6 separate regions of the Homo sapiens genome follow, and regions 1, 2, 3, 4 and 5 are each linked to region 6. Evidence: promoter capture Hi-C in 16 types of primary human blood cells and fetal thymus (Javierre and others, 2016). All regions are on one chromosome and are shown on one strand. Each heading gives the region's core, a stretch centred on a gene start or on the middle of the fragment in contact. The rest is flanking DNA. Distances are from core to core; before and after follow the strand shown. Region 1 has its middle 7.3 kb from the start of POU2F1-DT. Region 2 overlaps POU2F1 (POU class 2 homeobox 1). Region 3 overlaps POU2F1 (POU class 2 homeobox 1). Region 4 overlaps LINC01363 (long intergenic non-protein coding RNA 1363). Region 5 overlaps POU2F1 (POU class 2 homeobox 1). Region 6 holds the start of CREG1 (cellular repressor of E1A stimulated genes 1).

Region 1 (4,661 bases), core at 1,227-3,726, 340 kb before region 6:
TTTGAAGCCTCTTTCTCTTATTTGTTGTTTACTAGTTTTGTTTTGTTTTTTGGTTTTTTTTTTTGAGATGGAGTCTCGCTTTGCCGCCCAGGCTAGAGTGCCGTGGTGCAATCTCAGCTCAGTGCAACCTCCGCCTCCTGGGTTCAAGCAATTCTCCTGCCTCGGCCTCCCAAGTAGCTGGAATTACAGGTGCATGCCACCATGCCCAGCTACTTTTTGTATTTTTAGTAGAAATGGGGTTTCGCCATGTCAGCCACGCTGGTCTCCTGACCACTCCTGGCGCTCCTGATATCAGGTGGTCCGCCCGCCTCGGCCTCCCAAAGTGCTGGAATTTCAGGTGTGAGCCACTGCACCCGGCCTGTTTACTAGTTTTACATTTACTTCCACCCTACTTCTCAAGCTTCTAATCTATAACTAGATCTTAGGAGAATGATCCAGCGGGTGGTTTTACTGACTTCCTGGTTGTAAGACTGTGTCTTTGTCTTCCTACTTGGCTAAATCTTCAACATCCTATAAAGCTGTAGCCCCAGGCAGAAGTTAGGCCACAATTTTACTCAGCCTCCATTTACAAAACTGTGTGGGAGTGTGAAATGACATAGGTACAAGGCTGTTCATTGTGATATTGAGAGTAACAGAGAACATTTATCTGTAAATAGCATGTGTACAGCAAGAGAGGACTCGAGTAAACCACGGTTCACGCACACAATGAACTACACAGAGCTATAAAAAAGAAAGTAAAATCTCCATGTCCTGATATGGAACAATCTTCTGTACATACAGTTAAGCGACAAAAGCAAGGTATAGAACAGTGCATATGGTGTGCTATCTTTTGTGTAAAAGGGTATGCTATCCTTTTAAGAAAGCGAGAGACACCACATGCCTGTGGTCCCAGCTACTTGGGAGGCTGAGGTAGGAGAATCACTTGAGCCCAGGAGTTTGGGCTGCAGTGAGCTATGATTGCGCCTGTGAATGTGAATAGCCACTGCACTCCAGCTTGGGCAACATCATAGAGAGATCCTGTCTCAAAAAAAAAAAAAAGGAAGAGAAATAAGAATATATATAGTTGCGAGAAGAGCCATTGGAAGAATACACAACAAACCAATAAAAATGATTTCCTAAAGAAGAGGGAAAGTGAGACTGGAGTAAACATGAGATTTCTCTGTATCATAAAATGCTATAGTTTGAGTTTTGAATTTTGATTTATGTAATATGTAGATATTAAAATATCTACCAATTACCAAAATAAAAAAAAAAAGAGTGTGTGTACCTGTGTGTAGAGGGCAGGATGCTTCCAAGCCCAGAGCCTAGTTCCAAGCCCATTTTAGCACCTCTTTGTGGTGCTAAAATTCCAAGTACCACTGCCTGCCTCAAGGCAGCTAACCTACTCCTGGTCTGCATTTATGTGCTCTTCCTGGTTTGTGGAAATGATTATTGCTTTTGAGTCTGTTTCTTTTTGGTTTTCTCTTTTTCTATTTCATCTGTCTTGCTGAATATTTGGAGCAGAGGAAATGTTTAGATTTGTGAAACTATTGTGCCATTGTAAGTCCTTTTCCTTTAGTTTTAACCCTTATTATTGAAAATCCTTTAAAAATATTTTTTTCTTACCTTACAAAGTCCAGCACACTCAGAATTACTAAACATTTCTCAGATAACAAAACATAATAGAATGAACTTTATAACCCTTAATTATCAGTATAAAATCATTACATTTCATAGAGTTTAAAATGTCATTGTAAGATGCACCATTATTTTATGTACCATTAGAAAATGCTGCCAAGGCCCAGCGTGGTGGCTCACGCCTGAAACCCCAACACTTTGGGAAGCCGAGGCAGGAGGATTGCTTGAGTCTAAGAGTCTGAGAGCAGCCTAGGCAACATAGCAAGACCCTGAGTTTACAAAAAATAAAAAATTAACTGGGTGTGGTAGTGCACACCCCTGTAGTCCCAGCTATTTGGGAAGCTGAGGTGGGAGGATCACTTGAACCCGGCAGGTCGAGGCTGCAGTGAGCCATGATCACACCACTGCACTTGGCCTGGGGGACAGAATGAGACCTTGTCTCAAAAACAAAAAAATGCTGCCAATTAAACTATGATACAGTGCTTTCTTATCAAACCTTTGTAAGGTGCATCTTGATGTCAAAGATATTAAAATGTGAAGAATTGTGCATCTGAATGAGTAAAATAAAGAATTATAGTTGTAGACTTGGAAAATAAAAAGGTTGAACTAAATGTGACTGATCCTAGGATGTTCCAGAAATCCAAAGGAAATATTTTGCCTAGAGTAATGTCAAGTATATGGTAGGTACTTGATGAATGTTTATGAATAAATAAAGGCTTTTTACAAGACATTGGATGGTCATTAAAACACAGCGAGAAGTAGGCAAGAAAATTTGTTTTAAAAATGTTGGCCAGGCGCGGTGGCTCACACCTGTAATCCCAGCACTTTGGGAAGCCAAGGCGGGTGGATCATGAGGTCAGGAGTTCAAGACCAGTCAGGCCAACATGATGAAACCCCATCTCTACTAAAACTACAAAAAAATTAGCCGGGTGTGGTGGCAGGCGCCTTTAGTCCCAGCTACTCGGGAGGCTGAGGCAGAGAATTGCTTGAACCTGGGAGGTGGAGGTTGCAGTGAGCCGAGATCGTGCCACTGCACTCCAGCCTGGGCGACAAGAGTGAGACTCCGTCTCAAAAACAAAAAAAAAAAAAGAAAAAATGTTAAGCATCGACTCTGTCTAGGCCTGTACTGTAACATTAAGAATAAGAAGATAAAAAAAAAGAAGATATAGTCTAGTCTTTGATAGTTTATACTCTAGTGAAGGAGACAAATGTAACACAGTCTGACAATCAGAGGAGAGATGGGGACTGAAGGAGTAGGTTGTCTTCAGAGGGATATTAATAGTTGAAATTGGGACAGATAATGACACCAAACAGGCTTGCAACATGAGAGGGACACAAGCAGAACCTCGGAGAGTACCTATATTTAATGGGAAGAAAAAGAGGATCCAGTGAGGAAAATCAAGACAGAGTTAGAGAGATCAGAGGAGAAATTGAAGAGCAATTTGTCATTGAGACCAGAAGCAGAGATGGCTTTGAGAAGGAAGGAACGATCAACATTGTCAAATTGCCGAGAGATGGGGCAAGATGAAGAGTGAAGATGTCATCAGATTTGGCAGTTAGGAGTTCATCAGTGGTTTCCAATAAAGTAATTTCAGTAAAATCATTGGAGCAGATGTCAGACTGTAATGGGTTGTTGAGTAAATGCAGGGAGAGTTTATCTAGAGAATGCTTATGAGGAAGAATAAAAAGAGGCAGGAAAAACCAGGAAGGGCAGAAACGTAGTCAATAAATGCAGGGGGAAAAATAGGCATCTCATTGCATGGAAACGAAGTGAAGGATTGAATGTCTAGATGCGAGGGGAAGGCAGGTTGGGGCAGAAGCTGGCAGCTAAGGCGGCGAACAAATCTGGGGGCTCAGAGAAGAAAGGAACAGAGGATATGCAATCAGGCAATCTTTGGTTCAATTCCTAGTTCTGTCCCTTACTGTGTAAACTTGGGCAAGTTACTTAATCTCTGCCCTTCAGATGCTAAAAAATAATCCTCAGAAAAAGGACAGATACTCCAACAACACTCCTACAGTAAATATGATAACTTCTAAGAGTTTTTTCTTCTTATGATTTTAATGTAGGCTGATGACATAAGTCCAAAGTACGATTCTAGGAAAGAATCTTACAGGGGACAAAATGATGTATTTCAAGTGCATGGCTTTCTGACAGTTTGGCTTTTAAGAGTATCTAGAGGTGAAATAGCAAATGGATTTTATATTGCATGCCAATGCTAGGAGATGCCAATGGCTGCTCAAAGCACTGGTTGGGTAGAATCATGTTTGAGCAAGAGTCTAGGCTCAGCATAAGAAAGGGTTATGGATTAAAGAAGTTGCCCAGGGGCGTGGAAAGGATAGTAAGTAGCAAGAGCAGTGCCATATACAGTATTTGCTGACACTGAATTAGAAGAGAAAATGGCTATGTATCCATCAGATAGTTCTCCATAAGTGATATTGAGCTTTTTGATAAGTAATGAATTGTAAAGATTTCCGAGAAGTAGAAATATTCTATGCTGTACATTAAGGGTAAGAACATAAATTACAGTAGTCAGCTACAGTCAGAAAGTGTGACATCCTTTTATGAATGTTAAGGCATGTGACCAGTTTACATTCATTAATTTAGCAGAAGGTCTCTCCACCTGCTCAAGGGGGAAAGACCATGGAAATATCTGAGGCAGGATCAAAATCTTCCTTGGAAAAACAGGATACTCTATAAGACATGGACAAAAAGGAGATGAGGGTTCCAGTGCTTCATATCCAATGATCATCATCATTTTATCTTGAAAACTTTTTTTGTTTTTTTTTTTTTAAGAGACAGTCTCTTTCCATGTTGCCTAAGTTAGTCTCAAACTCCTGGACTCAAGCAAAGCTCCCTCCTCAGCCTCCCAAGTAACTGGGCTTCCAGGCATGTGCCACCATGCCTGGCTTGAAAACTTTTAAAAGTTTCTTTTGCCAAGCTTGCTTAATAGTATTTATAGTATATGCACCTTTAAGCTTGATGTACTTACAGTCTATGCACTTTGGTTGAATCTTCCAAGACAGTGTATTTCATTATATATATA
Region 2 (3,976 bases), core at 621-3,120, 260 kb before region 6:
AAAACAAAGATTTATGTCTACTTATAGGCTGCTGAACAAATTTTAATTTAGATATTAACTGACCTTGCCCCCTCCTTACCAAGATCCTAATTTTTTGTGTTTGATTTATAGTTTGGATCTAGAATTTCCGTTCAAAATGTTCTCAGATTTCACAATCATTAAATAGAAGACAGTTCTAAATTTATTATTTGAGAACCTGTGCTAATCTTGGGGGAAACATTATAACAATAAGTAAAATGGAACTCAGTGCTCTTTAAATGGCCAAGAACATCACAAACCGGAAGCTTGGTCACTTGTGGTCCTGACTTGTAAAAAGAAGTATTTGCTAACCATGTTTTTATTTTTATTTTTTTAAACTATTGAATTTCAGGTAGTCTATGAGGGGAGTATACTTGTAGTAGCATTTTGCTAGATGAGCTGCCTTTATTCCAAATCAATAAATGAGTGGTCTGAGCACATGTTTCTTTTTTTGAAATAGTTTCTTTGAAGTTTTATTGTGGACTTAAATCTAATATCCCTGACGTAATATTTATTGACTTTCTAGGCATCATTCATTCATTCAACAAATGTTTCTGAGTGCTTGTCAGATTCTACCACTAAGGTTGCTGTACTGAACATGACTTATAAGGTGCCTGTGCTCAGCAAGCTTACCTTCTAGTGAGGACTAAACAGAAACCAGACAAGTGAACAGGGTTTAAATTTAGGAGAAGTACATACAGAAAATAAAATCAGGTGATGTGATAGTGACTTCAAAGGGTCTCTCTGAGGAGGTGACATTCAGACAAAGACAGAGGCCTGGGCAGAAGCATCTTCAGTGGAAGGAACAGAAATTCCAAAGGCTGTAAGGTGCTTGTGAGTGAGTTTGGTGTACATTTACATGGTGCTGTAAGTGCTGAGAGGGTATATTAATGTGATGGTTTAATGTGACTAACATATTTTGTGGAAATTAATTTTGATTTTATGATCAATCACACCAGATTGCCATAACTTAAAATTTCTATCTCAGGTCTTAGGAGTTACACTAACTTTTACTCTGTTCTATATTTGGCCAGTGGAACTCAAACCCATTTGAAAACGTTTGGTCTGAGATGTTCATTTATTTGCTGGCTTGTGTTCTGTTCTCTTTTAGACAGTTTTTTTGTGACCCCATTGTAATGTAAAAACATTTAAATATTTGCCAAATTAGTTGAATTATAAATCTACATTTTTACATAGGGAGACAAAATATAATGAAAAATAATTATAGTAACTTGGAAGAGACTTCAAAAGCAGTATCCAAAACTGCAAATTATGTTATACAGTTTAAGCACTTAGTTCATTTTCTTTGTAATAAAACTTATTCCACAAATACGTAATTATTTACAGGATTCCTACATAAATAAGGAACTACTAAGATTGCATGAAGGCTGGGTGCGGTGGTTCATGCCTGTAATCCCAGCAGTTTGGCAGGCAGAGGCGGGTGGATCACTTGAGCTCTGGAGTTTGAGACTAGCCAGGGCAACATGGCAAAACCCTGTCTCTACAAAAAATACAAAAATCAGCCCAGTGTGGTGGTGGTGGTGTGCGCCTATAGTCCCATGTACTTGGGAGGCTGAGGTGAGAGGATTGATTGAACCCAGGAGTTTGAGCCTGCAGTGGGCAGTGATCGTGCCATTGCACTTCAGCCTGGGCGACAGAGCAAGGCCCTGTCTCAAAAAAAAGTGTAGCACGAAAACCACATGTTCTCTTTTGTGTTGAGATATGCATATGATTATACCCTTTTATCAAAATTTAGTAAAAGCATTTCTTAGCTTTTGCTCAAATTACAGATTCTATATGTCTGTCCTAACTTGTCATCCATCCAGCTGAAGCGTCTCAAGGTCAGAATCATGTCTGTTTCATCTTTCTGACCCCATGGAGCAGAGTACAGTGCCTATGCATAGTAATCTCTCAAAATTGTTTGTTGAGTGAGTGAATGTGTGAACATTTTATGAAATTATCTTTAAGAGTAGTTACTCATGATCAGTATACTTTAAAAGATCGGCAAAACATTGATGACTTTTTAAAAAGTAATTTTGGCCAGGAGCAGGGGCTCATGCCTGTAATCCCAACACTGGGAAGTGAAGGGGGGAGGATCACTTGAGGCCAAGAGTTCAAAACTAGGCTAGTGAACGTAGCCAGACCACATCGCTACAAAAGAAAAATTTTAAAACCAGCTGGATGTGGTTGGCATGTGCCTATAATCCCAGCTACTGGGGAGGCTAAGGCAGGAGGATTGCTTGAACCCAGGAGTGCAAGGCTGCAGTGAGTTACAATTGCACCACTGCACCCGGCCTGGGTTAAAGAGTGAGACCCTGTCAGAAAAAAAAAAAAAAAAAAAAGTCATTTCATAAAATTGTTGGAAAATATGCATTTCTGAAGGAGAGGCGTCAGTGTGAAGAACACTCATCTGAACTAAGAATCAGAAAATGGATCTGAATTTCAGCTTTGCTATTCATTCAGTGTCCTTAAATAAATCATGCAACCTTGCACATCATTTTCTTATTTATACAATGAAAGCATTGGATTGATCATTGCTAACATTTCTCTCTGCTCTAAAACTGTGATTTTTATCCTTTGCTATTTGCAAGAACCAGAAGAGATAAAGGTTGCCTTTTATGTTAGATTTGATTCTAAATCTAATGATATAGGACAGCGGTGCTTAAGCTATTTTTGTGAAGTGATAAGGAAAAACCCTGGGAAAGGTTCAGTGGTGGTTTGCACAGCTGATTATTTGTTATGATTAATTGTTCCACTTTTATTTTCTTTTGTGGCCTGTAACCTAATTTTTCACTTAGTATTGGGATTATTTTAGTACAAACAAGTGATATATTTGTAAGAAGGGATCCAGAGAGTATGGTAAAATGTCTGGATGCTGATGTTCTCTAAGTTAAAGGAGATTCTAGGGGGTAGTCTATAATAAAGGAAAAACACATTTTTTAAGGTTTTAATTTTTCAGAGTGCAGGGAGGTGCTAGGTGCTTTCCTCACATTAAGTATAACATTTCCTTTTACAGTATGTCAGCATATTGTTGAAGTTTTCCAATATGAAAATAATATCTATTTACTAGCATATTAAAGCTTAGCAAGAGAATTTTAATAGCCTCATTTAGCCTCCTAAACAGTCAGAGGCAGGGAAATATTATTAGAGTAACAACACTGTAGGTGCTCTCTTTTGTCTCTAGTAGCAAAATGAATTCTGGCTACCATGTACTGTAGGAGTGCTGCTGGCTTGAGGCTCCTGAGATCTGGCATGGCTGTTATACTGACTTGTTTTCTTTCAAATTCATGTTAGAAAAATCTGTGCGTGTGTGTGTGTGTGTGTCTGTGTACACAAATATTTATATTACCGTGTCTCAGTGCTTTGAGACTGTGTGAGGCGGGGGAAGAGCTGTTGAGGCTTTTTATAGATAAAGTTGATAATGCTTTTTTGACTTGGTTTTCTGTTACCATCTTTTTTGTCTCTATTATGATATCTATTATATAAGTCAGAAGGAGAAATGACACAAATGCCAGTATACCAGTTCAAGATAGGATCTTGGTTTGATTTAGCTAAAATTTACCCTACTTATTGGTGCAATTTTTAATAATAGAAAACCATTCCTCATTGCTTGGAATTTTTATCTGCACTTTCCATTTTGAATATTATTGTTAGTTGTTGAACACCAGGTTTACTCTGCAGGACACCAAGCAAAGCTTTAGAAATTTCTGCCATCATTAAACCCTGAACAGACTGATAAGCAGCAAAATTGAATCAGTTTAAAAAAAAAAAAAAACTTGCCAACAAAAAAAGTCCAGGACCAGATGGATTCACAGCTGAATTCTACCAAACATTAAAGAAGAATTGGTACCAATTCCAAAAGATTGAGAAAGAGGGAATCCTCCCTAAATCATTCTATGAAGCCAGTATCACTCTGATACCAAAACCAGGAAAGAACATTTAAAAAAAAACTACAAGA
Region 3 (4,346 bases), core at 1,001-3,500, 310 kb before region 6:
AATAGAAGTAATGATAATAATGATAGAACATTAAACAACAAATGAGCCCTTCTATCAGATTTATTGTTGTTGAGAAGGTTGTCCTTAAGTCACTTTGAATTTTTTTTTCATGAAGACCCACCTAGGAGATTTCTTTCAAATCCTAAATACCTGAAAAAAGTTTTGCTTTTCTTGAGAAATCAAATGCTGCTGTTCCCCCTTTCCTCCTAAAGCAAAGTTTAGAACATTTTCTTCTTTGCTTTAGCCACCAGGAGTCTTAGTGCCAAGTTTATGCCTCAGTTGAATAACTTTACATATTTACATTCGAAATATATGCTCATTTAATCTTCTATATTGTTCCTTGTTTCTGATTTCTGTGTGTTTTACTTTTCTCTTTAGGTCTTTGCTTAAAAAATATTGAATGAAATTATTATTATAAAATTTTTTAGTGAACTTAGAAAATTGTTAGCTTCACAAATAATCTAAGAAGTATAAATTAACACTGAGAAACATTTAAAATCAGATTGTAAGAAATGAAAATAATGATGATTTTCAGTGCTGACTGACAAATGCAGTAAATTGGACACTCATATCTGTTAATGGAAGTGTAAACCTGTGCAGTCTTTTTGTAGTGACTTAAAACATATACCTTAAGGAAATTCCTTAAGTTTGGAAAAAGCTATGAACAAAGGTGCTTATCTGTCCTTCATTTTAAAAAGGTGAAATTTGGAAATAACCTAAATGGAACTGTTAAATGAGCTATTATATACCTATGTACTTTATGGAAGGAGTAATACTGTATTTTTAAAAATCATCAAAATGAAACTGACCCAGTAATCCCATAGACAGTAAATCGATTAGTTTATACTTTTAGATGCTTTAGGATATAAATAAATTGGTAACTATGAACCACGTGCTATAGAGTTTAATGCTAAATGTAATTTTACAAGTAAATCAGGTTATATATATATGTGTGTGTGTGTGTGTGTGTGTGTGTGTGATTGAATTTTTTTTTTTTCCTTAAAGAAACAGGGTCTCACTCTGTCGCCCAGGATGAAGTGCAGAGGTGAGATCAGGGCTCACTGCACTCTCAACCTTCTGGGCTTAAGTGATGTAACTGCCTCAGCTTCTCAAGTAACTGAGACCATAGGCGTGTGCCACCATGCCTGGATAATTTTGTTTTATTTTTTGTAGAGACGGTTGCCCAGGCTAGTCTCAAACTCCTGGCCTTGAGTGATCCTTCTGCCTCGACCTCCCAAAGTTCTGTGGGATTACAAGTGTGACCTGCCACACCCAGCCTGTGATACAATTTTTATATCTCCGAATTTTAAAATGTTTGGATTTGTAAAGGATTCTTCTAAAATGGCATATATTCTAATCTTTACCTAAATTTCCTCGTTACCCAACTTTTTCCTCATCCAAAGCTTCTTTTTGTTGTTGTTTCAAACCTGAAAATATCCATCCCCACTTGAGTTTCAGTTTTGAGCTATATAGTACTTACTAGGCTTCTATCAATTGGAACATTGACCTGTTTATAGTTTTTTTTTAAAATTCTGTCTATAATACAATGATCCAGTATACATACTATTCCATACTGTTAACTTTGGTGTAGGAATTCTGTTGTTGGTCAGTAAGGTAAGTGGAATATGTCTTTATGACTTATTGGAAAAGACAAACCTAGCTTGGCTTTTCTACGTGTTTTACATATGTACCTTTGAAAAGGTATGCTTAAATATTAAACAAAAAGTACAAGTAGAATATTTATACCATGCAATCAAACTGTGCAGATTTTGAATGTTTAAATTTTGCCATGTTTAACTTTTTTAAGGTTGCATGCAGAGAGATAAAACAACAATGGACACTAGTCAGATTCTCATAACCAGTGAGGGGGAAGTATCTTTTTCTAATAATAGAATGATCTTTGGTTTGTGAAAAGAGGTGTGTAGTTGGAAGTTAATGTATTTTTCTTTACAGAGTATACAGCAGTTTACTCCTTTTAACCTGTTATCAGATTTATTTTGGAAAGAATTGTGTGAGTAATGTTCTGAATTTAAAAAAGCATTGCAGGAAATTGATGTGTGATTATTCTTTTGAGTACAGTGCCCTTTAAGAACTCAGTGGGTAGTTATGTTTACTTGTTTAACTGCATCACATTTATTCATGATAGACAAGACAGCAAGTTAGTAGATGAACTTAATGGATGAATTTGTTTTGCTTTGTTATACCTTGCAAGAAAGCACAAAACAATCATCTAAGGCTTTATCGTCTAATTTCCATCAGGTACTGTGTTACACTGATTTGCATACATTGCTGGACTTATTTTTAACAGCCCCCTGAACTTTAAATAGAAAAGGTAGCTCCTATCCTGGAAGAACTCACAGTTCGGTAGGGAAAGGGAGGCAAGGAGCAGGAACAGATGAGTCAACTGAAATTATAATACCCTGTGATAAATGCTGTGAAGGATATAAATCCTGTATGCTATGGAAGTAATGGAATAGGTTCACTTAACCCAGTAGTTTGTGGGGAGGAGGGAGAGGAAGAGTCAAGAAAGACTTCTCAAAGAAGATCCCCAGAGCTGAGGGATAATAGGAATTAGGTTGGGATAAGGCGGTTGAGGGGAGTATGTTCCTTGTAGTACTGAACAAACACAAGAGCATCTAAGAGCATTTCAGTCTTTTAACTACAATAATAGGTAACATTTAATATACAGTGCTTATTATGTGCCAATTGCTATTCCAAGTGCTTTGTATTTTCCATGTATTAACTCCTTTAATTTTCATAACAACTTTATTATGTAGGTATTATAATTATCCCCATTTTACAGATGAGGAAACTGAGGTACAGAAAGAGAAAATAACTTGTCTAGGATCACATGATGAGAAAGTAGAAGAACTAGGATTTAAACCCATGTTGTCTCATTTCGGAGTTTTGGCTTTTATTATGAGAAAAGTTAAACTCTGGATTGCACCGGAGATAAGTACCTGGGGTGAGAAAACCTTTTCAATTAATTCTTCTTACTGAAACACATATATTATTTTCTTAAAATCTGAAGCAGTGGATCCTATCCATTTTTTTCTGCCTCTGTAAGAATGTTTGGCATCCTTTATCTTCTCATCTCCAAGCTTTCCCTAGTAACCAGCCCTCTTAAACTTCAGCATTCTCGAACTTCTCCCTTCTGTTTTCTCTAGATACCAGCCTTTTGCTTCCCCTTATCTCCAGACTTCTTTGTAAACTCCTCTAAACTCCCTGCCTCTGCTATATAACTTTCATTCCCTCCTCATCCCATTGAAATCTGGGTTCTAAAGAGAGATTTATGAGGAAACTTGCTAGGCAGTGTAGGGTTATGCCTTCTTTTTGTTTTTCTAATAGTGCTTGACAGGTCAAGGTGTAGAAGTAGGAGTGGAGATGGCAGCCCTCCAGGATTGGGGTCTTTGTTAGGATGTGGAACAGAAGGACAGGGGAGCAAGGGAGTGGAAAGTCTTGACAGGAATGTCATTCATGGACCCTGTGGTCTCAGTAGAATTTAGAAGGAAGTGAAGACGGGAGTGAATTGATGGTCTAGGGGAAAATGGAAGAGCAGGAGGTCAGGTGAATTGCAGAAAAGCTCTTTAATGGGAGTAAAAGAGCCAGAGGTCTGGGAGTATTGAGGTAGTATTGGGAGAGTTTAAAGTTTTAGAGGAGGAACTGTCCTGAGTGATACATTTCAAGATCTGGTGGTCATTGGTGTGAATGACTGAAGTGACAGTCGTGAGAGTTCATGCTGACTCACCTACAGTGAGGATGGGCCTTGTGTGTGCAGTGGAGCACTGTGATGAGCAATGAAATAATGAAAGCATCATTTGCAAGATGGTGTTACCTTTGCCCACTTCTTGCTGTCAGATGGTAGATACTTATTTCATTAACAGGAGTTATGTTTATTTTTGTAATTGACATTTTATTCTTGTTTGCATAGAATAATGCAAAATCTTCATTGAAAAGGAGCAGTATCTGTAGTATCAAATTCTTTTGTGTGTCATTTTTTTTTTCAGTATATTTTCTAACATAACACTTAACATTAGCAGTATTTTGACCTTTTCTGTCATTCTGGACAATCTGTTCTGGCATTTTCCTTCCGGAAAATAGAGAAGAGAAAAAAATATGAGATGAAGAACAAATGGTTGGGCACTCATCTTTAATTTTGATTGTTAGAATTGTTTAGGTTGTTAGAATTCTGGTTGTTAGAATTGTTGTAGATGTTTGGGGAACATCCATCATGGATCAGATAGAAAAGAAAACAGTGTTTTTGGCTTATTATTACTTTGCTTTTTGTTTTAATTTTATATAGTTATAATGTTACAAATATTTCTCAATTTAAATTATAGTGTTTA
Region 4 (4,616 bases), core at 183-2,682, 360 kb before region 6:
GGACCTAGCCCCAGTAAATGGGATCCTGGCTCTGATACGTTTTGGCTGTGTCCCCACCCAAATCTCATCTTGAACTGCAACTCCCACAATTCCCACGTGTCATGGGAGGAACCCAGTGAGAGGTGATTTAGTTATGCGGGTGGGTCTTTCCTGAACTGTTCTCATGAGAGTGAATGAATCTCACGAGAGCTGATGGTTTAAGAAAATGGAAGTTTGCCAGCACAAGCTCTCTGTTTTTGCCGCCACCATCCATGTAAGACACGACTTGCCCCTCCCTGCCTTTTACCTTCCACCATGATTGTGAGGCCTCCCTAGCCACGTGGAACTGTAAGTCCAATAAATCTCCTTCTTCTGTAAATTGCCCAGTCTTGGGAATGTCTTTACCAGCAGCGTGAAAACGGACTAATATAGGCTCCAAAGCTTCAATCAAAAAGAAGGGAAGGTATGTGATTTGGCAGCCCAAGTAACTTCGGAGAATTAAAACGAATCTGACCCAAGAAGGAGTTTTGTATTTCCTAATTTAAAACAAAAATTTCTCCTTAAGTCTTACACTTTCTGAAAGTAATTCATTTGGGACATTGCTAGCATAGGACTGATACCTTGTACTAGAGAAAGAAAGATGAATTCAAGTCAGAAAGTTAGCATGCAAAGTCCAGTATGTGTGCAACCAGATCAGAAAGGGATATTTGATGGGATACATATGAAAGCAATGGTTAGAGAAAAATAAACCACTTCATGTTCATAGGGTTAATATTACTCAATAAACAAGTTAAAATTGGTGAGAGATTTCCTATATATTTAAGTGCAACAGCAAACTGCAGAACCATACGTACATCTATATTTATATAGAGAGTCAGCATTTGTGTATTAATAAAAAAGCCTATGCCCCTATGTATGTACATATTTGCTTCCTTTTGTATAAAGTGTCTCTGGAAAGACATACAAAACAGGTAGTAACAGTTGCTTCTGAAGAAGGTAACTGGGTAGCTGGGAAACTTACTTTCAAAATATCATTTTGTAGCTTTTGCATGTTGTATCATATGACTATTTTATCTATTCAGCAAATTTAAAATTAAAAAATCACCCTCTGCAAGTCCCTTCAGATTTTATTTTTCTAAGTCCAGATACAGCATTTTAAACATATTCCTGGATTTGAACACTAAAGACAAAAATGGAATTATGATAGTGAGGCCACAAAGGAGACTCAGGAACAACCTGTGGGTGTTAGGTTTAAAAATCTGGACAGAGTCTTTCTTTCCTGTGTGGATGATAGTTTTTTGTGATAGCTGAACACACCCCCTCAGGGAGAATGTAAGAGATGTTGACTGGTACTCAGAGAGAATGCCAGTTGCTGAGCATTCCACATTCCAACAAAAGTTCCCAACACTTCTCTCAGGCTCACCAGACTGGCTCTGCTATCCCCGAACCTAATGCCAACATCCTTCTTCCTAAGGCTGATAGGCAGTAGAGAGAGTTGGATGCACTGGGAGTGCAAACCAGAAGTCATCCTGTCCCACTGGTGATAGTTACCTGGTCAGCTCTACAGTCCAGGTGGTCTCTTGGTCCCCACCTTGACTTCTCTCCTCTCACTGTCAGGCCACAGGTACCACATCACATAACCTGTGACATCTCTGTTCTAGAAAGCAGAAACTGTGCCCTGTTCACTTTATCCCTAGCCCCCAGCATAGTGCCTGGCCCACTGTGGTACCGACTGTAATGATTGTTGGATGAATGAATGCCCCAACAAGTGAATAAACAAATGAATAAATGGCATTAAGCTCTTTACTGTCCAAAGTTCCAAGCCAAAAGAGATGTTTTCCTCTAAGGTGATAAGTGTCTCTATATCCAGCATATCCAGTGTTTGTTGACAGGGCCTCTCAGCCTTCACAGCACCTTGTGCAAATTAGGAAAGCACATGCCTCCAGGCAGATGTACCCATAAGCCATAGCTTGGTGGCAGAAGGAGCCTCTGAGAGAAGGTAAAAGTGCCTTTCTCTGGGAAGACGGCCTGGATTGCTGCATTCAGGTTAGATTTCCAGACTCATTCACCCCTAGGCTGGGCATCTCTATGCAGAACCCCAACCACACAACCTTGAGCAGCTACAGAATTCCTTCCCTTTACCTCACTTCTGTTATGCCATCTCCATCTCCTCCTCCACTGGTATTTACTCCCCCACATCTCTTCCCCATCCCCTTTACCCAAGGGGCCCCTCCCAGGCTATCTCTACTCCATGTCTCTTACTCTCTTCCCTTCTCAATCTCTCATCGAGATTTTTTTCTTTCCATATTTCCTGGCTGCTCATCCTTTCTTTCATCAGCACATACTGTGATTCACACGTTTTCTCATTCTTCTCTTGTGGTACCATATTGAAAAAGAGTTTGTTTATCCCATTTAACAGAAAATAAACTAAGACTCAAGCAGTTTATATAACTTGATGAGATCACACAAGCTTTAAGGAACAAAGTTAGTAATTTAATCCAAATTGAGGTGACATCAAACACAAAGTTCTGACTTCTGCTTCTGGCTATAATTGAATAACAGGAACCAGATTTTATCCTGCTGCCTAAAACAGTAACAAAAAGAGGGATGAGATATATGAAACAGTAGTTTCAGGACACTGGGTATCAGGTAACAAAGGATAGTGATCCTGCAGAGACAGAAAATAAAATTAATGAGCCCTACAATTACCCTAGTTTACTGCCTTGACACATTTTCCAAGCTATGGCTCAGGGAAGGGAAACTGAGGCAGAGACTGGTGATCTCATTGAGTTGAGGACACAAAACTAAGAGTCTGGGGAGACCAAAGCAGTCTAAGTTGAGAGGACAGAATATGAGACAGGAGAGAGGTGCACAGAAAGAGAATCTCAGAGCTCTGCAGAGAAAATACTGATCCAAATGCTGAATATGGGGAAGGAACCAACTTTAAGAGGAGGTTTTAAAGGACACAGTGCCTGGTTTAACACAGGGCCAGAAATTGTGCCTGAATTGTGTTTTTTCAGTCAGATTTTAAAAACTTAATTCATTTGACATTGGGTGGAGTATTCAGGAAGAAGGTCTTGCCTCAGTAGTGGAGAGTATTTAGCCCTAGGCTGAGCACTGCCCTGTTTCCACCTAACAAATCATAAAAGCAAGACCAAAAGGATGAAACTATTTCCAAGTAACTGCATTCCTTCCATTCCTTCTTCTGCTTCTTCTTTGTCTTTTCTTTTTCTTGGTTTTTTTTTTTTTTTTTTTTTTTGAGACAGGGTGTCACTCTGGTCTCCCAGGCTGAGGGCAGTAGCTCAATCACAGCTCACTGCAACCTCTGCCTCCCAGGCTCAAGCTATCCTCCCACCTCAGCCTCCTGAGTAGCTGGGACCACAGGTGCACACTACCACACCTGGCATGTATATAAATTTTTTTGGCGGGGGAGAGATGGGGTTTCACCATATTGCCCAGGCTGGTCTCAAACTCTTGGGCTTAAGTGATCCACCTACCTCAGCCTCCCAAAGCACTAGGATTACAGCGGGGAGCCACCATGCCTGGCCTGCATCTCTTCTTGAGAAACAAAGCTTAAGAAGATTTATTGTAATATAAAAATATCTATCACCCAACGATATGTAATTCACAATGTCTGGCATCCAGTCAAAGATAACTAGGCAGGCAAAAAAGCAAGAAATCATGACTCAGATTAAAGAGAATAATTAATCAATTAAAGTTGACTTTCCCAACTCAGAACACACACAGATGTTAAAACTAGCAGAAAAGGACATGGAAACACATGTTGTAAGTGCTCGGTAAATGTTAGCTTTCATTATTATTTCATTTTTTCCCTCAAAAATGTTTACCTCAAAGAAGAGATTATCATCCACACTGACAAAAAGTAAAACTGTGTTGGCCAGGTGCAGTGACTCACGCCTGTAATCCCAGCACTTTGGAAGGCCGAGGTGGGTGGATCACGAGGTCAAGAGATCAAGACCATCCTGGCCAACATGGTAAAACCCCGTCTCTACTAAAAATACAAAAATTAGCTGGGCGTGGTGGCCCGTGCCTGTAGTCCCAGCTACTCAGGAGGCTGAGGCAGGAGAATCACCTGAACCCGGGAGGTGGAGGCTGCAGTGAGCCAAGATGGTGTACACTGCACTCCAGCCTGGTGATAAAGCGAGACTCTGTCTCAAAAACAAAACAAAACAAAACACAACAAAACTGTGTCTCAGAGTGGTGGAGTGGCCTAACCAAGTTCCCAAAGGAAGCTACCTGCAGAAGAGCGACTAGAATTAGTTTCTTCATTTACATATTGTGTCACTTACCTATGAGCTCTAGTTGAAAGGTCTTTACATCCCTGGGTACTGCTAGCATCCAGGAAGTTGAGCAGAAGCAGCAATTCAGAGCCAGTTACTATAATCAGGCTGAAGGGGAAAAACAAAACAGAAACACAAAGAGAAAGAGAATATTTAGCTTAAAATATTGATTTGTATGATTAGAAGGGTGGAATAAGAACAAATTACTTTAACCCATTACAATAAGACCCATAACTGAAAGCATTATACATATGGAAATATATAAAATCATTAGAGTTAATTTATTTTGACCATGTATTTTGGGGGGGAAGAGTCAGGTATAGATGTAAAAATTCA
Region 5 (4,293 bases), core at 1,320-3,819, 320 kb before region 6:
GATAAACATTAATACTAGGGTTGAAATTTATGCTCATGCCACTGTGCGTGTGGACTGAGTATTGAATCTGAACGTTGTAAATTCTAGATATCTCATTTTGGCTTTGGCACTGTCTTCTAAGGTTATTTCCTTCAACAATACGATGGTGATAATACCAGTGTTAGAGGGATGCTGTGGGGAGTATCAAATTGATAGCAGAAGCATTTTTAAAGTAACTCTGTAATAGTTTTTCTTACATGAGCACAGGAGTAAAATCAGGAATTTTATTACTTGTGCTGCTGTAGAGAAGCAGAAGCTTTAGCAGCCGATGGATTCTGTGGGGCACCTGACTGTAGGTTGTTCATTTTTTGGTGCAGCCAGCATCTTAGGAGGAATGGACACTCCTAATACTCTTCTGAAAACTTTATACAGTGGAGGTGTTGCATTGTAGCAAATACAACTTACCTTGATTTCAGGGCATTCTGTTATCTAGCCCCTACCCTTGCCTATGCATTATTATCTTTACTACTTCCTTAAATAGCATGACTCAACAATTCCATCAAGGAAGTTCCCTTATTGTCCATTTCTACCACAAATACAGCATATTATCAGATTTTAATTTTTAAAGAAATTTCCCTAAAATTTGAAGATCTATCTTGGGAGGATGGCTATAATTTATCCTGAGACTTACCTGAGCCTTTCTCCCATTACCATCCTTGCAACACCAATCCCAGTTTGAGACACATGACCTGAATGTGTACCCAGTGTTTTGGTCAAGCCAGTGTGTTTGGGACGTTGTGTGAGAACCTTTACTCACACTTTTTCCTCCATTGGAAGGCCATGGTGTATGGTATGGTAGAGTGAAAAAAGGTACTGGGGGGTTCAGAGACCTGGCTTCTCTGTCACTAATTAGCTTAGTAACTTTAGGACAAGTTACTTCACCATGGATTTTTTTTTTAATTGCATTTGTAAAATAAGGGATTTCAAACTTTTAAAAGCCTTTGGTGTTCTTTTTTAAAGGCAAAAGTGGAGCTGTTCTGATTAAAATTGGATATTGGAGCAAGAAAAGCATTTTCCTCCTCCTTTCCACAGTAGCTTTTGAGGCACTTTCACAGGGTCCTTAGGACTTCTGCTGGTCATGACTTGAAAACTTTTGTCCTTATTTATCTTAAGGGACCTGTCTGTCCATTTCTTTATCTCCACAAATAGCCATCTGTCAAATCTGAGCTCCTGTCATACTTTCTCTGAAATTAGCACTTAATTTGTGTTCAGTTACCCAATTCAGCACTTCATTATACACAGTCCTATTTTCTTCTCTAATTGATTATGTAAGTAAATCTTGTCCTAAGAGCCTTGAGTGCAGGAACATACTGGTAGGGACAGAGTAGGCCTAGACATTTAACAAATAATGAATGCTTGGTTGATGGACTTAGTGGTTCTCAATCTTTGTCACCATGGGGTGACCCATGGAACTTTTTCAACATAAGAAGGCCCAACTTCTAATACAGTAGAGGTCTGAAAATCCATACTTTAAAAAAGCTCTACAGGTGATTTGATAACATTAAATGATTACTTGTTGCACTTCAAGATTATTTATTGCTTAGCATACCTTGAATAATGGTTTTCAGTTAATGCACCAGAAAGGCCCTATACTGGAAAGACAGACTGAGAATTAGGAGACTTGGATCCTTATTCTGCTTTTAGCATTAACGATAATAGCTTTCTGATCCTGAATAAATCACTAAATTTTTCCAACCCATAGGATTCTTATTGATAAAATTATGGGCTGAGCTAGGTGAATAGTTTTCATACTTTTTTTTTCCTTTTTAAACTGGAATTATTCAGAAACATCTTTTGGGTGAAGACCAGTAAATATAACATATATTTTTATCAGTTCGGCTTTCATCTGGGTACCTGAATATTTATTAAAAATATAGAACATGGTAAGCTTGGTCCTGTCCTAGTAGGAGAGCTAAATTGTATGCAGTAGGTAGTACTGAAGATGGGATTTAGACTTTAAACTTGAAACATCCTATTAGAATGCGAATGAACAAAGGTAGTAAGCTTATCAATAATTGTGGTACTCAGTGTGAATAAAAACTAGATTATGATGAACCAATATGGCCAGTCTTTCTGCATTCATTTAATTCAACAAATATTTATAGAGCTTCTGCTCCTTGTAATGTACTGAGCACTGGTGGTAGAGTAATGAATAAGATAACATCTCTGCCCTCTCAAAATGTATATTGGTCAGTTGGGGAAATCATATGTTAAATAATACTGGTTGTAGTTTAATGAGTAGAATACGAGAGATTTGAAGTACCCCAGGAGCATAAGGTGGGGACTGCTAATCTGGACAAGAGGATTTGGGAAGGGGCTCTCTGAGGATATCATGTTTACAATGAGATGTGAAAGATGAATAGGAATTAATCAGTTCAAGAACTGGGAGTGAGAAGTGGAATTGAAAATGTTCTGAGCAAAGGGAACACTATGCAGACATCTCAGACATCCCTCATTATACACAGGGGCATACCACAAGGGGATTGGTTCCAGGATTCCCTACTCGTGTGCCCTCCTCCCCCAACACACACACACCAATATCAAAATCTGCACATGCCTCAGTCCTGCAGCAGGCCCTGTGGAACCCGAGTATGTGAAAAGTGTGCCTGGCCCCTGGGCCTCAGAGCCCCTGTGACTATGAGCTGTTTGCATCCCGTGAATTCTGTATTTTTAATTTGCATGTGATTGAAAAAACCTGATTTAAGTGGACCCACACAGTTCATACCCATTTTGTTCGAGGGTCAGCTGTACAATCACGTACCGCATAATGACTTCTCAGTCTATGGACCAGTATACAATGGCAGTCCCATAAGATTATAACAGAACTGAAACATTCCTATCTCCTAGTGACATTGTAATGATCCTGACCCTGTGTGGGCCTAGGCTGATGTCTGTGTTTGTGTCTTAGTTGTTAACAAAAACATTTAAAAGGTAAAAATTTAAAAAATTTAAATAGATAAGAGCTTATAGAATAAGGATATAAAGAAAAATTTTTTGTATAGCTGTACAGTGTGTTTGAAACTGTTATTACAAGAGTCAAAAAGTTTTTAACATTTTAAAGCTTATAAAGTTACAGTAGGCCCAGCGTGATGGCTCATGCCTGTAATCCCAGCACTTTGGGAAGCCGAGGTGGGCAGATCACCTGAGGTCAGGAGTTCGAGACCAGCCTGGCCAATAGGGTGAAACCCCATCTCTACTAAAGATACAAAAATTAGCTGGGTGTGGTGGCACACGCCCATAATCCCAGCTACTCGGGAGGCTGAGGCAGGAGAATCACTTGAACCCGTGAAGTGGAGGTTGCAGTGAGCTGAGATTGCGCCACTGCACTCCAGCCTGGGTGACAGAGTGTGAGACTCCATCTCAAAAAAAAAAAAAAAAGTTACAGTAAGCTAGTTAATTTATTATTGAACACAGACTTTTTCTCTTATAAATTTAGTGTAGCCTAAGTATATGGTGTTTTTAAAGTGTATAGTAGTGTACAGTAATGCTGTAGGCCTTCATATTCGCTCACTCGTCATTCATTGACTCACCCAAAGCAACTTCCAGTCTTGCAAGCCCATTCAGGTAAGTGCCCTCTACAGGTATACCATTTTTAAATCTTTTATACCATGTTTTTAACTATACTTTTTCTGTGTTTAAATATTTTTATTTTTTAATTTTTTTTTTTTTTTTAAGTAGGGTCTAGCTCTGTCACCCAGACTGGAGTGCAGTGGTGCAGTCACAGCTGACTGCAGCTTCTACCTTCCAGGGCTCAGATGAGCCTCCTACCTCAGCCTCCTGAGGAGCTGGTACCACAGGCGCACGCACCCATGCCCAGCTAATTTTTTTTTTTTTTTGTAGAGACGGGGCTTCGCCTTGTTGCCCCGGCTGGTCTTCAACTCCTGGACTCAAGCAGTCCTCTTGGCTTGGCCTCCCAAAGTGCTGGGATTACAGATGTGAGCTCCTGTGCCTGGCCTAGGTATTTTTAAATACACAAATACTTACCATTGTGTTAGGATGCCTGCAGTACAACAGTAGAATAACATGCTGTACAGGTTTGTAGTCTAGGAGCAACAGGCTATACCATATAGCTTAGGTATGTAGTAGGCTATACCATTTGGGTTTGTGTAAATATGCTCTGTGATCACACAATGACAAAATCATCTAATGACATAGCATCGTTAAGTGATGCATAACTGCACATACAATTCTTGAAACTAATGAAAACACAGCACTTTCAAGGAACAAAAGTTCAGCATAGCTGGTTCAGGAAGC
Region 6 (4,381 bases), core at 860-3,359:
ATTAGAATCATCAGGGAGTGGTTTGTGGGGAGGCGGGAAGGGGTGTTGTCTTAAAATAAAATGTGCTTTCAATAAAATACCTTGGCATCCCATTTTTAAAGCCTTCTTAGGTGACTATGATTTGCAGTCAAAGTTGAGCACCACTGATGGAGTGGAGTGAGTTTGTTTTGAGCAAACGCCTAAAGGTGTGGAATGGGCTGGGAATAAGAAAATGGTGAACTGGGGTGTATCTGCCTTAGCTAAAAGAGGGCACTGCTTCTGTTTTTGCTCAAAGAGTGCAGGCCCACAGTGTCACTGGATCTTCCCATTTTTCAAGAAAAGTTAGAGATTTACATTTTAAAGTAAAATCTAAATTTTAAAATGTTGGTAACAAATTCAAATTTATTAAAAACAAAACAGAACTTTGTGTAGGCCAAACCGGTCTGTGGGACATATTCAGCTGATGGGCCACCAGCCTGTGATAGGTGGTTTGAAGAAAGATGAACCTGAGATGAAACTAGGGGTTTGCCCGCTGGCTTTAAACAAGTTACTTAACCTAGGTAGGCCTCAAGTTCTTCATCTGCAGAATGGGGTATATAATACCTACTTCAAAGAATTAATAGAAGAGACAACGAATGGAAGGCAAATGGAAAAGTGATTAATCAAGCATCAGTTTCTTGCATCCTGTCTTTATCAACAATGTTGTACTTTCAGAGTTGAACTCAAATGTGAGAGCTTTGTCAAAAAGACCCTCCATCAAATCAGGCTCCATTCCTGGACTCTGTGTGTCTCCGGCCTCCCAAGCTGGGTGTCTGTGACCCCATCCCTGAGACAGCAGAGATCCATCAGAGTTGTAAGTGTGGCCCTGCACCAGAAGGTGGGCAAAGGGCGAGGAAGAGATACACCTTCAATCAGCTCTGCATCTTACTGAGGAGCCACTATGCCTGTGGAGGCCTAAAGACTGCAGTAATCATTGTAATCGTCCATGATATTGTACGTTAGCGTCTTGCTGCAGGAGGGAAAAGCTTAATTCAGGAAGGGTAAGAGAGTGAGAAACCCTGAAGTCACATATTAAAGTGCTTAAGTACCTAACAATCTCTATGCCCTGTAAAACCTTTAAGAATAGGAGCCCAGGCAGGGCGCGGTGGTTCACGCCTGTAATCCCAGCACTTTGGGAGGCTGAGATGGGTGGATCACGTGAGGTCAGGAGTTTGAGACCAGCCTGGCCAACATGGTGAAACCCCGCCTCTACTAAAAATACAAAAATTAGCCGGGTGTGGTGGCACGCACCTGTAATCCCAGCTACTCGGTAGGCTGAGGCACGAGAATCGCTTGAACCTGGGAGGCAGAGGTTGCAGTAAGCTGAGATAGCGCCACTGCACTCCAGCCTGGGCCACAAAGTGAGATTCTGTCTCAAAGGGAAAAAAAAAAAAAAAGAGAATAGGAGCACAGTTAATAGAGACACTGGGCCCCAAGACGACTGAGAACCACTCACGGATGAGAAGTCCTCGGGCTGCTGGCAGAGAATTTACCCCAGGTGCGTGGCCCAGTGGCGGAGGCTTGTGGGAAATTCCTGGTACCCAGCTGCCCAACATCTGGGACGCTGCAACGCCCACCTACCTGCCTGCGCGGCAGAGAAGCAACAGCCGTTCGAGCCACGCTCCACTTCCCGGGAAGAATTCTGGGGAGAGTGAAGGCTCGCTCTGTGGCCGCCCCGCCCACAGCCCGCCTGGGGAAGCCGCGGGCCCCAGCTCACCTGCAGGTTGCTCACGGAGAGCTGCAGCGGGCTCAGGTAGAAATAGGGCACGCCGCTGCCCGCGCCCGGGGGCCCGTCGCTGAGCGAGAGGACGTCGGCGAAGGGCCGGCCGCGCACCGCCTCCAGCGTGGAGATGGTGGCCAGAGCGCCCCAGTCGGAGACGTGCGTCACGAAGCGGGCCACGCGCGCCGCGTCCTCGCGGGGTGGTAGCGGCGGCAGCCGGGAGGCCTCGTCCCAGTCCCCGTGGTCCCGGCCGCCGCGACCCCGCGCGGGCGACACGAGCAGCGCCAACAGCGTCGACGCCAGCAGGGCGGCGAGCAGTGCGCGCGCGGACCCGCGGGATAGCCCGGCCATGGCGGTGTCTCCAGGAAGAGTCCCGGGCCCCAAGACCTGCAGGGACCCAGCCGGAGCTCGGCGCGCCCAGGCCCCGCCCCCTCCGCGAGGCGCCAATCAGAGCTAAGCACAATGCAGGGGGCGGGGTCCCTCTGCAGCTCCGCAACCTGCAGGAGAAGGGATTGGTTCATCTGCATTCCAATCGCTCTGCCTGCCCTCTTTAAGGATTGTGAATTTGTCCTAAACGGGATATTTGTTTTGTTTTGTTTGACAGGCGGAAAAAGAAAGGCTTGAAGAAATCAAGCAACTTGCCCAAATCGTACTGCTAGGAAAAGACCAGCCTCTTTACACAGGCACACACCCCCTCCTTTTAATACCTTTGGAGATGAATATCTGGCATCTGAGAGGAAATGCTGCATTTTCTACCCATGCGCCTCTTTTCTGTTGAATTTACCATCAGCTCCAAAGAACAGCGAGGGTCCCAGCGTTGTAGAAGCCCAGACTCAGGCTCGTGTACCCCATGTGTAGCTGATGCCAAACACTGACATATAGGTGCTTGGAGATAAAAGTTTATTCGATTTGGCCAAAGCGAGAAGGCGGGAGGGCAAGATCTCTCAAATCCGCCCTAACAAAAAGAAGAAGCAGAGAGTGTTTATGCGGCCAGCGAGTCAGGGAGGGGGAGTTTCAGGGAATCGAGGGAAAAAGTCTGTGTTTCTTCAGTCTCAGATAATTCCTTGAACAATCAGACTTCTGGGCGACAGAAGCTGGCCTCAAAGTACTTCAAAGGACTTATTCCTCCTGCAAACTTTTTCGTAACCCTGAAGTTATTATCTCCTCCTGCTTGATAAAGAAACAGTACATCAGCAGTTTATGATTATGTTGTAGGAACAAGGGATATTGGGCAAAAAGAGAGTTGTCAACATGTGCAAGCAAGGGCCTGATCAGAATTTTCATTATTTCAGTCACTAACAAATGCTGGGGTGCTGAAATCTCAAGGGGCCCACTTACACTAGTAGTAAAGTTAGGCAGAAGCCCGAAAGTTCAAGACCTTTAAAAAACTTTTTATTTACTTATTTTAAAATTTTTAATTTTTGTGGGTACATAGTAGGTGTATACATTTATGGGGTACATGAGATATTTTGCTACAGGCATACAATGCATAATAGTCATATCAGGGTAAATGGGGTATCCATTGCCTCAAGCATTTATCCTTTGTGTTACAAACAATCCAATTATACTTTTAGTTATTTTAAATGTACACTTAAATTATTATTGGCTATAGTCACCCTGTTGTGCTATGAAATACTAGGTCTTATTCTAACTATTTTTTGTACCCATTAACCATCCCCACTCCTCCCCTGCAAGTCCCCCCACTACCCTTCCTGGCCTCTGGTAACCATCCCTCTACTCTCTGTCTCCATGAGTTCAATTGTTTCCATTTAGGCTCCCACAAATAAGTGAGGATGTGTGAAGTTTGTCTTTCTGTGCCTGGCTTATTTCACTTCACGTAATAACCTCCAGTTCCAACTATGTTGTTGCAAAGACAGACAGGATCCCATTCATTTTTTATGGCTGAATAGTACTCCATTGTGTATATATACCACATTTTCTTTATCCATTCATCTGATGATGGACACTTAGGTTGCTTCCAAATCTTAGCTGTTGTGAATAGTGCTGCAGTAAACACAGGAGTGCAGACATCTCTCAATATACTGATTTTCTTTCTTTTAGGGATATACCTAGCTGTGGGATTGCTGGATCATATGGTACCTCTATTTTTAATTTTTTGAGGAACTCCAAATTTTTTTCCAAAGCGGTTATTCTAATTTACATTCCCACCAACAGTGTACAAGGGTTTCCTTTTCCCCACATCCTCACCAACATTTGTTATTGCCCGTCAAGACCTTTTAAACTACTGGCCCAGGAGTCCCTCATATAGACGCACAAAGGGATTGTTAGTCTACTATCAATATCCCATGTACAAATTTGAACTTACCAGTTCAGGACCTGTTAAGACATTAAGCTTGGGGTCGGCGGTTTCATGAATTTATTGCCCCCGCTGCCCTTCCCTGCTCCATGTAAGGGACATTCCTTTTGCTTCTTCTAAGATGGCCTGTCTCATTCTCTCACGGGTGCTCCTGATTCTGCTATTCTGGAAACTGGTCAATAAGCTCATAGCACCTGGCCTCCATTCTTTATGACTTTAAGCTTTGGTCACGTCTTTTTGGAGCAAGTCTTAATCTTTTTGGCCTGGCCTCAAATTTCCACTGTAATTGTTGTTATAAAGACTGTATGGTGGTGTTAGTGCAAGAG

The links. Contacts are between HindIII fragments. The CHiCAGO score rates a contact against its expected background, and 5 or more counts as called.
Region 1: a contact is called between a fragment that was not itself captured here and the fragment with the promoter of CREG1 in region 6, in 8 of 17 cell types (fetal thymus, activated CD4 T cells, neutrophils and 5 more). The highest score is 8.1, in fetal thymus.
Region 2: a fragment that was not itself captured here is called in contact with the fragment with the promoter of CREG1 in region 6 in 6 of 17 cell types (fetal thymus, total CD4 T cells, total CD8 T cells and 3 more); the score reaches 7.4 in fetal thymus.
Region 3: a fragment that was not itself captured here is called in contact with the fragment with the promoter of CREG1 in region 6 in 12 of 17 cell types (total B cells, naive CD4 T cells, fetal thymus and 9 more); the score reaches 8.9 in total B cells.
Region 4: a fragment that was not itself captured here is called in contact with the fragment with the promoter of CREG1 in region 6 in 3 of 17 cell types (total CD4 T cells, naive CD8 T cells and fetal thymus); the score reaches 6.8 in total CD4 T cells.
Region 5: a contact is called between a fragment that was not itself captured here and the fragment with the promoter of CREG1 in region 6, in 10 of 17 cell types (fetal thymus, total CD4 T cells, neutrophils and 7 more). The highest score is 11.9, in fetal thymus.

The regions. Positions count from the first base shown.
Region 1 is chr1:167,210,889-167,215,549 of GRCh38, forward strand. No RefSeq gene overlaps it. Among named protein-coding and RNA genes, the nearest start is that of POU2F1-DT, 7.3 kb to the right of the region's middle. The HindIII fragment of the contact is 4,156 bases long and covers 399-4,554 here.
Region 2 is chr1:167,288,705-167,292,680 of GRCh38, forward strand. The region is part of intron 1 of POU2F1 (POU class 2 homeobox 1); the gene reads left to right. LOC124900412 (a long non-coding RNA gene) reads left to right here. Exons shown (of 2, transcript XR_007066718.1): 2 at 1-3,976. Among named protein-coding and RNA genes, the nearest start is that of POU2F1, 70 kb to the left of the region's middle. The HindIII fragment of the contact is 2,452 bases long and covers 645-3,096 here.
Region 3 is chr1:167,246,090-167,250,435 of GRCh38, forward strand. The region is part of intron 1 of POU2F1 (POU class 2 homeobox 1); the gene reads left to right. It overlaps LOC124900412 (a long non-coding RNA gene), which reads left to right. Exons shown (of 2, transcript XR_007066718.1): 1 at 1-4,346. Among named protein-coding and RNA genes, the nearest start is that of POU2F1, 27 kb to the left of the region's middle. RefSeq lists an enhancer at 3,612-3,661. The HindIII fragment of the contact is 1,698 bases long and covers 1,402-3,099 here.
Region 4 is chr1:167,190,769-167,195,384 of GRCh38, forward strand. LINC01363 (long intergenic non-protein coding RNA 1363) reads right to left here. Exons shown (of 4, transcript NR_110811.1): 2 at 4,290-4,388. Among named protein-coding and RNA genes, the nearest start is that of LINC01363, 2.7 kb to the right of the region's middle. The HindIII fragment of the contact is 2,029 bases long and covers 419-2,447 here.
Region 5 is chr1:167,229,444-167,233,736 of GRCh38, forward strand. All of the region lies in intron 1 of POU2F1 (POU class 2 homeobox 1), which reads left to right. Among named protein-coding and RNA genes, the nearest start is that of POU2F1, 11 kb to the left of the region's middle. The HindIII fragment of the contact is 1,057 bases long and covers 2,042-3,098 here.
Region 6 is chr1:167,551,653-167,556,033 of GRCh38, forward strand. It overlaps CREG1 (cellular repressor of E1A stimulated genes 1), which reads right to left and starts at 2,110. Exons shown (of 4, transcript NM_003851.3): 1 at 1,736-2,110. The coding sequence starts at 2,089. RefSeq lists a silencer at 1,799-2,248. The HindIII fragment of the contact is 3,087 bases long and covers 1,003-4,089 here.